Regions from separate parts of the Homo sapiens genome. Here region 2 is linked to region 1. Evidence: promoter capture Hi-C in 16 types of primary human blood cells and fetal thymus (Javierre and others, 2016). All regions are on one chromosome and are shown on one strand. Each heading gives the region's core, a stretch centred on a gene start or on the middle of the fragment in contact. The rest is flanking DNA. Distances are from core to core; before and after follow the strand shown. Region 1 holds the start of NRIR (negative regulator of interferon response). Region 2 has its middle 180 kb from the start of GRASLND.

The links. Contacts are between HindIII fragments. The CHiCAGO score rates a contact against its expected background, and 5 or more counts as called.
Region 2: a fragment that was not itself captured here is called in contact with the fragment with the promoter of NRIR in region 1 in 1 of 17 cell types (erythroblasts); the score reaches 5.0 in erythroblasts.

Annotation. Positions count from the first base shown.
Region 1 is chr2:6,838,066-6,842,941 of GRCh38, reverse strand. NRIR (negative regulator of interferon response) reads left to right here and starts at 2,478. Exons shown (of 4, transcript NR_126359.1): 1 at 2,478-2,651. It also overlaps a transcript of CMPK2 not described here. The HindIII fragment of the contact is 12,024 bases long and covers 296-4,876 here.
Region 2 is chr2:7,093,784-7,098,659 of GRCh38, reverse strand. No RefSeq gene overlaps it. Among named protein-coding and RNA genes, the nearest start is that of GRASLND, 180 kb to the right of the region's middle. RefSeq lists an enhancer at 1,025-1,154. The HindIII fragment of the contact is 299 bases long and covers 2,037-2,335 here.

The sequences.
Region 1 (4,876 bases), core at 1,229-3,728:
TTCCAAATCTAAAGTTCAGCTCTGTCAAACTTCGGTAAGGTACCTAGGTCTAGTCTTATCAGAAGGAACCAGCACATTAGATGAGAAGAGGATTCAGCCTCTTTCCTCCTTCCCCCTTCCCAAAACCCTCAAACAGCTAAGAGGATTTTGGGGTTTTTTGCAGATTGTGGATACCTGGGTACAGTGAAATAGTTCACCCTTCATATCACCTTATAAAAGAAACTCAATAGCTGAAACTCACTCCCTGATCTGGGAACCTAAGGCTCAGAAGGCATTTAAACAGCTAAAGCAAGCTTTACTTAAAGCATCAACCCTCAGTCTTTCCATAGGGAGGGCATTTAATCTGCACATCTCAGAAAGGAAGGGGATAGCTTTGGGAGTCTTAACTCAGGCCTGAGGCCCAGCCCAGCAGCCATCCAGTAACCTAAGCAAGGAACTTGACTTGATGGCTAAAGGATGGCCAGCTTGCCTCTGAACAGTTGCAGTGGTGGCTTTGCTGGTGCCAGAAGTGACTAAGTTGAGCATGAGGAATGACCTGATTGTTTACACCCCCTATAATGTAAAGGGACTGTTATCCTCTAAAGGAAGTCTCTGGCTAACAGATAATCGCCTCCTCAAATATTAAGTTTTGCTGCTGGAGGGATCTGCAGTTCAGTTAAAGGCCTGTCCTTTCCTGAACTCAGCCACTTTCCTTCCAGATGAAATTGGAGAACCTGAACATGATTGTGAAAAAATAGTGATGCAAACCTATGCAGCCAGAGAGGACATCCAGGAAACTCCTCTAGAAAACTGAGACTGGGCTGTCTTTACAAGTAAAGTTCTATTATAGAACAAGGAACCTGTAGGGCAGGGTATGCAATAGTCACCCTGGATGACATCATTAAAAGCACACCTCTTTCACCAGGTACAGTGCTCAATTAGCTGAGTTAATTGCTGTCATGAGGGTGCTTGAACTAAGCAAAGCTAAGGCAGTTAACATATATATGGATTCTAAGTATGCTTTCCTGGTTCTTCATGCTCATGCCGCTATTTGGAAAGAAAGACACTCCCTGACTGCTAATGGCTCTTTTATTAAATACCATTAGGAAATAGATTGTTGTCCTCAGTTTTCCTTCTGCAGGAAGTGGCAATGATACATTGCAAAGGACACCAGAAGGGGATGGATGAAATAGCTGAAGGAAATAGGCTAGCAGACCAAACAGCTAAGTCAGCAGTAAGAAGACCCCAAAGTCCCAGCACACTTGAAGGCTGTCTAATTTGGGAGGGCTCCATAAGGGAAATAAAGCCTCAGTATTCTCCTGCAGAGATAGAATGGGCCACCTCTCGAGGATACACTTTTCAGCCCTCAGGATGGTTACAATCAGAGGATGGCAAATGTTATTTGTCAGTCTCCAGTCAGTGGAAAGTTCTTAAGATCCTTCACCAAACTTTTCACTTGGGAAAGAATAAAACTCATCAAATAGCCCAGAGGTTGTTCTCAGGTAAATATCTACCAAAAACAGTCAAACAAATTGTTAATGCTTATAAGATCTGCCTCAAAAACAATCCCCTCAACAAATGGCATCTCCCCATCCCCAGCAACACAAAGAATGGGAAACTGCCCAGGGGAGGACTGGCAAATGGATTTTACCCATTTTCCAAAGATAAGGGGAATTCAGCACCTCTTGTTGTGGGTGGATGCCTTCACTAGCTGGGTAGAGGCATTTCTATGTCAAACAGAAAGTCCTCTAAGGTGATAAAAGCATTAGTCAATGAAATAATTCCTCGTTTTGGACTCCCTAAATACCTCCAAAGTGACAATGGCCCCTCATTTAAGGCAGCTGTTACCCAAGGGGTCTCAAAAGCACTGAGCATACAATACCATCTTCATTGTGCTTGAAGACTGCAGTCTTCAGGGAAGGTGGAGAAAACAAATGATATCATTAAGAGACACCTCAGGAAGTGGTCTCAAGAAACTCACCTCCTCTAAACTGCTTATCTTCCTATAGCCTTAGTGCAGGTGAGGAGCACCCCTTCAAATTTGGGGTTGAAGGGGTGTTCCTTCACCCTTTTGAAATGGTATATGGACGGCCTTTCCTTACCAATGATTTTATATTACATCAGAGAACTTCTGAATTGGTTAAACATGTAACCTCCCTGGCCCAGTTCTAGCAGGAATTAAAACAGTTATCAGAATTCCAACCCCAAGAACTAGGGCCACCTCTGTTCTACCAAGGAGACTTGGTACTGGTGAAGGATTTTTCCTCTCTTTTCCCCTCTCTAGGTCCCAGCTGGGAGGAACCTTATACCATCCTTCTCTCCACCTGCTCGGCAGTGAAGTTTGTGGGACTGGAATCTTGGATTCATCACACTCGAGTCAAGGCCTGGAATGACCCCTGACATCCCAGAAGAACATCTCAGATATCAGTGTGAAAAGTCTGGGGATTTCAAACTGAAAATCCAAAAGATAAGTAAATGAGTGGGAACTCTCTGTTCAGTTCAATCCCACCCTTCCTTACCAGATACTAAAGTCATTTCTACCTTTCCTCTTGAGATTTGCTGTTAGATATTAGAACTTCTCTTTGTCACATACTTACAGGGAGATTTTGATTATCCATGGGATTCCATTCATAACCTCATAAACCACCCCCACGAAGAAATTATATATCTCGGTGAGTAAGATTTAAAGTGGAACTTTATTACTTCACACATATGGGAATTGTTGTACTCACCTTGCTCTTTGCAGTAGGACTGCATACTGTGGCACCTTCTAAGTGGAATATTGGGAAAAGAGTCTCAATTGCCATAATCTTTTGCTTAGTTATTATTCATATAGCAGGGATAGTAGTCACAGGCAAGAGATAAACATGAAGATTTTGTTACTATCAAGTTTACTAGCATTCACTGTTAGATGTAGCAATGCCTCACATTCTTTGGCTCCTACAATATCAGATATTACCGATCTCTACAACAAGACTGATTACTGGGTTTGCCCTGAACAATTTACTCAGTTTAATAACACCAATGGACTCTTTGATGATTCAGAACTCACTATCTTAGGGTTTCCCTCTGATGGCTTTACCTTAAATCATTAAGGACCTAATAGGTATAAAGGGAACATGGTATGGGAGCATTTTTAACTCCACCCAGAAAGACACACCTCCTGATGGTAAAACTCACACCCTTAGACTAGGTGAAGTTGATAGAATGATAGCCAATGCCTGTCTCTGCTTTAAGAGTAAAGGAAAAGGACCATACTCGGGAAACCTTAAATAATTGCAACAGTATGCTTGTAATTGCTGAGAGCACAGAGATCTGGAGACTAAGAAGGAACAAGGGTGACACCAAACATTGGGAGAGACTGTGGAAAAATTTTAACAATCTAGCCAGACCTCCCAGGTGGAGTTCCCAATGGGAATGTCTACCCCGGGCAGAAATGCCACCCCTCGCCAACCTTATTATCAGGTAATAAATAGCACATGGTCCTTCCCAAACATGCCCACACATGGAATCCTGGACCCTTGTATGATATTTGATAATGACAGTGATCTGCAGATTTGTGAATGAACAGGGGATGTCTGGGCCAATAGCCGCTGTAAGGAGGGTTGTCTAAGATACTGGCTGGAACATATTGCGTCTCTGATCTTTCAAAACTATATTTGCCAAACAGATTCTTCCCTCCCAGCATGTAAAGTTCCAAACAATACTGTGGATGACTATACTAAGTATGGATATCCTTATTCTAAAGATGCTTGAATTAGATGTAGGGAAGGCAACCTTATAAGGCCTGGACTAAACTTAGCTGGAACCCTCATAAATCACAACATAGAACCATCCCTTCAGGGAACAGGGCTTTACTTTCTCTGTGGCTCCAGGCTATGCTTATTCCTCCCCAGGCGCTGGAGAGGAACATGCACTATAGTGGCAATGGTCCCCAATTTGTTATTTTTAAACCCCACTGACAGGGTAGCATTGTTGGGTGACATCGCCAATTTGGGCTCTTTTACAGAAAGTGCATTCCATCACACATACCAAAACAGGAGATCACTTATCTCTATGCCATCATATGGAGATTAAAATGAAAGAGAGAGAACTGGCAAGAATATGCACATGGCAATCCTATATTAGAAAAACGGAATAAAATATGCAATAGCCAGAGGCCTATTTTGGCTTGGCGGTGTTCCCCTTCTTGAAAGATCAGTGCTTAATATTTCTATCATGATGTAACAAGGGTGAAAGGTAACTGTAGGAGCCATAAAAGCCCAAGAGCAGTCCATAAATTCTCTGGCCTCAGTGGCCATGCAAAATAGACAAACTCTTGATGTCCTTATGGCTGAAGTAAGGGGCGCTTGTGCATTTGTAAATGAAACATGCTGTTTCTGGATCAACACCTCCAGTTAGGTAGAGGAGAATTTATGAGTGCTTAAAGACTCAATTAGAATCATTGACAAATTAGGTGAAAATGCAAACTCAGTTGGCTACAATCCCTTTTTAATGGATTCTAGTCTTTGTTTTGGACCTGGTTAGCTCTCTACTAGGACCTCTTTTTCCCGTGTGCCTTGTGATAATGTTTGGACCTTGCATACTCAATGCTATAACCAGAGAGATGGAGAAAAAGATGAATGGTACTCCCATGTGGAGTGCCACCACAGCCCTGGGCCCTGCCTCCTTGTACATGTGATGAGCACATTTCTACCTGGTTTAAGCCATTCTTGATTTGGGTTTCTGATCCACACAGAGTTGAATGTATATTCTTTTACTTTTTGCACCAAGAACCTAGGACACCTTCACTAACATATGGGACTAAAATGTTGTTGTTGTTGTTGTTGTTTGAGACAGAGTTTCACTGTCACCCAGGCTGGAGTGCAGTAGCCTGATCTCGGCTCACTGCAACCTC
Region 2 (4,876 bases), core at 937-3,436, 260 kb before region 1:
GTATCCTGTGAATATTTACAATTATTTATCCATTAAAAAATAAAATTAGAATAAAAAGAGAAACAAAACAAAGACTAAAAAATAGAGGTCTTCTTGTTATCCAAGTGTGGATTGGCGATCAGGTTAGATATTAAGACAGTATACTAATCATAAGAAATACTAAGCCCAACTTTGTTTTTCAATTAATGGCATCCTTAATGAATTTGTGTTATTATCCATATTTTATGGGTGTGGAGCACATAACTTGAGCAAGAAACTCCACCTGAACCTACAGGTCAGCGAGGTAGAAGTTGCCCAAGGTCTCATAGGCATTAAATGTCAAAGGCAATGAGAACAGAAATCCTAGCTCAAATAGCCCATCCAAGGATTAAATGGTATAAATTACTAAAAACACTTTTCTAGGAGAAATTTCGATACTTGCTTTATTTTTCTCTTATTCTCATCATCCTGGAGGATAGGGCAAAGATAAAAACGTTCCTGGTGAGGCCCTTGAGAATCAGTGTGGCTGAGTGGCACGCCTGGGCTGCATGCAGATGACTGGCAGAACAGGGGCCAGAACCACCTGCTAGGAGGATGTGCCTTTGGGGGCTCCTTCTCTTTCTACTATGAAGAAAGGAGTCTATAAGGAGAAATTGTCTGAGTTAAAGCAAATCTCCTGTCCTTAAGAACAAATGCAGACTCTTGAGTCCTGCATTTAAGGACTCCCAAGATGAAGGCTGAAGCTGATGTGATGGGGGCCTCTTGAATCGGGTGAGTCCATCTGGGATGTAGGAAGAAATAGACCAGAGTGCATGGGATGGGGAGCTAGGGGGTGCTTCTCCACACCCCAGGGCAGCCTGTGGCCCCTCCCACTGGCTGTGATGCCTGCTGGGCCCAGGGCAGGACAAGTGGCTCCAGAGCTCTGGTGGAGGACGGTGGGGCACATAAGGCCAGCTGGGCTGGCTGTAGCCACGTGGTCTTTCTGAAACTGCACACCTGCTTTCTCTGTCTAAGCTGCCCTGTCTAATTCTGGTTAATCTCACGGTGGAGAGAGGGAGGGAGAAAATCACAAGTTGAAGAAGGCTGAGTAGGCATAGGGTGGAAGAGCTCAAGGCAGACACAAAAATCCATCACTCACACGCAAAACAAAAAGACCCAAACCAAAACAAACAACAAACAAAATGGTAACAAAAGACAGCAAAGCACGCGCACCTAGAAACTGGTTAAACGCGGTGCTCGCGCGCCACCTGCTGACCGAATCGTGGCGCTGCATGCTGGCCGTCCCTTCCTGCCCCTTAGCCTCGGCGTCCTGCGCACTTCAGCATCCCCAACCAATCTGGCGGCACTCAGGATCCTCCAAGTCCAATCCAGTTGCCAGAAAGTCTTTCTAAATCATAGAAATTTAAATTTCACTCCCAATTTTAAATCTGCCAGTGGTCTCCATTTCATATAGGGGCCAGTTCAAATTCCTTAAGCATGGCTCACAAGGACATCAAACTGTTAGGTCAGTAGCTGGTCAGGCAGAGCAGGACAGAGAGGGCCCCCACCCCACCATGAGGGGCGGGCGACCATCAGGTGGTGGTCAGGCGGTTGGTTAGCTGTCTCTCTAAAATAATAATTGTTTGCAGCCGGCGCCAGGGAACGGCATCTCCCAATAGATAGAAACACCTGAAGCCCGCAGCTTTCAGATAGATCTCCTCCGGCGTGAGGTGAGTGGGCTCAACACATGCGCACTAAGAGGCAAAATGGCAGAGTGTGAGTGGCATATGACCTCCTAGGGACATTCGGCTGGTAAGGGAAGAACGCCTCAAGGGAGCATGGGTACGACTCCAGTAAACACACTGCGCATGCGCCCCTCCCAAGCGCCAGCAGCCCACCATGCATGCGTGCAGTCCACCCCAAGGGGAGAATCAGGGGAGAAGGGACGCAAGACCCCGGAGGCATGCCAACATATAAAACCCCAAGTCAAAGGGTCAAACCCTGCACTAGTCCTTCAAGTCTCCTGCTTGGCCCTCTTCCAAGTGTACTTTCCTTCTTTTCATTCCTGCTCTAAAGCTTTTTAAGAAACCTCCACTCCTGCTCAGAAACTTGCCTCAGTCTCTCCCTTGCCTAATGCTCCTCAGATGAGTTCTTTCTTCCGAGGAGGCAAGGAATGAGGTTGCTGCAGACTGGTCCGGAGTTGCTGCTGCTAACATACTTTGGTGCCCTGTGACTCAGAGACCTTCCGCTGCTAACAAAACCTGGCCCCAGTCTGTGCCTCCTAAATGGCTTACCCCAGGGTCCTTTTGCTAAACCACCATGCCTCTCTCTAGGGTCGGTTCAAAGCCACCTCCCTCCTTCTCCTTGGAGGAAAGCTTGTCCTCCCCGGCCTTTTCCAGCCCTGTGCCCCATTCTGGGGACTCCATGCCTAGTACCTGGCCCCTTTCCTGCCTCATCATCCTGCTAATCTCTGAGATCCTACAGGGAAGTATCTTATTTATTCCTCAGAACAGGGAACACAGTGCCTGAAACATCAGAAGCTTCCCATCCAATGTCTCAATATTTGCTAAGTAAATGCTGAGGCTTTTACCAGCTAAAAATTCAAAGGTTTTCAATCGTTGGATGTCTTTCACGGGAAAAAGTGATGGTGAAGAGCCAGGATCTGCCGCTCACTTAAAATTCACCACGTGGGCCGGGCACGGTGGCTCACGCCTGTAATCCCGGCACTTTGGGAGGCTGAGATGGGTGGATCACTTGAGGTCAGGCGGTCAAGACATGCCTGGCAAACATGGTGAAACCCTGTCTCTACTAAAAATACAAAAATTAGCTGGGCATGGTGGCACATGCCTGTGATCCCAGCTACTCAGGTGGCTGAGGCGGGAGAATCACTTGGACTCAGGAGGCGGAGGTTGCAGTGAGACAAGATCGTGCCACTGCACTCCAGCCTGGGTGACAGAGCAACACTTTGTCTCAAAAAAAAAAAAATTACCACTTGGACTTAGGAGACGCTTCCTCCTGAGCCCTGTGTATGAGGTGACCAGCTGCCCCCAGATATTCTACTGCCCCGTCTGGGGAATCTACTGACCGGCACAGAAGAGGCACCAAACACCTGCTCATACCCGGGAAGGATAAGGCAGCATGAAGCGAAGTTCTATTTGACAGGCCCTGCCACCCCCAGGACAGCCTTAATAGTGTGTGTCCCTGAGCAATGTTTCCCCCCCAGCCTCCTCTCCCTGCAGCAGGGCCCTGCCCTCCCTCCTCACAGGGTTTCTTTGCTCATTGAGCTTGTCTCCTCTTTGCCCCACCCAAATGCACTCATCTCCATCCATGAAACTAAATGCTTTCACATGGAAAAATTCAGATAGGTCTCAAAGTATAAACTAATCTTCCCAGAGCTATGTTGCCAACCCAGGTGTCTCCCCTGAAGCCTAGAATCTGAGTCAACTGGTCACTTTTCCACTTGGATATTCTGCAGCACCTTGAACTCCCTGGGGCAAACCTACACTTGCCAGTTTCCTGCTCCCTTAAAATACGCTCCATCTTCTGAGTCCTGCACACCAAGTGGAGGCCCCACCATCGTCCAGGTGCCCAGGACAGAAATGTGGGATTCATCATCAGTTAGTCACTATGTCCCACTGATTCTGCCTTCTAAGTGTATCCTGAAAGAACACACTTCCTTCCGTCACACAACCCCCTACTCAGGCCACTGGTATCTGCTCTGGATTATTGCTCAGCATCTATGTTAGTGTCACCGGCAGCGAATCCGTATCTTACGGGTCTGCAGCAACCTCAATTCTTGCCTCCTCAGAAGAAAGAATTCAACTGAGGGGCATAAGGCAGAAGGAGAGAACAAGGCAAGTTTTAGAGCAGGAGTGAAAGTTGATTAAAAAGCTTTAGAGCAGGAACACAAGGAAGGAAAGTACACTTGGAAGAGGCCCAAGCAGGTAACTTGAAGGACAAGTGCAGGGTTTGACCTTTTGACTTGGGCTTGTATATGTTGGCATGCTTCCGGGGTCTTGTGTCCCTTCTCCCGATTCATCCCTTGGGGCGGGCTGTCTGCACGCACAGTGGCCTGCCAGCAGTTGGGAGTGGAGCGTGTGCTATGTGTTTCCTGGAGCTGTATGCATGCTTATTTGAGGCATTCTTTCCTTACCAGACTAGCATTCCTACAGGAAGGTCATACAACAGTTAAACTCCATCACTTTGCCTCTTAATGCACATGCTTGAGCTCACTCGCCCACTTCCTGAGATCTTATTGGGAAGCTGCTGATCACCAGTTTTAGGTGTTTTCTTTTTATTTGGAGACGGCCTTTCCCTGGTGCCAGCTGTGACCAATTATTACTTTAGCGAGACACTTTACAACCGCCTGACCGTCACCTGACCGTCACCAGACACTCCTGGTGTGTGGGTGGGGAGCCCTCCCCTGCCCTGCTCATGCCTGACTAGCTACCTACTGTAACATTAGGACACGGCAGATGCAGTGATCAGAACCCTCAAGCCGCTGAGGTGAGCTTGTTGGACCCCCGTTCCAGAGACAGTGAGAGTTCCAAGCTCTCCCCCACATTTCCCTCCTGCAAATTTCTCTCAGCTGTGGTGGTCCTTCTTTTTCAGATTCACCTTGCGTTTCCCTCCATGCCACTCCAGGCCCTTCACCAGGCTGTGCTGCTGAGCATGTATGCACACACACACACACACGCACACACATACACGGACACACACGCAGGCACACACATGCACACATACACGTAACAACTAGGAAATGGGCACATCGAGGAACACGTCCCCACCGTCGCCTCCTCTCTCCCCTGCTTTCCTGTTTCTGGCTCAGGCCAGTGATTCCTCTCTAGGCCTCCTGGGGTGGGGGTGAAGGAACCAGTCTCAGTACCCAGTTTAAGTGCGCTCAACAAAGAAAAATTAT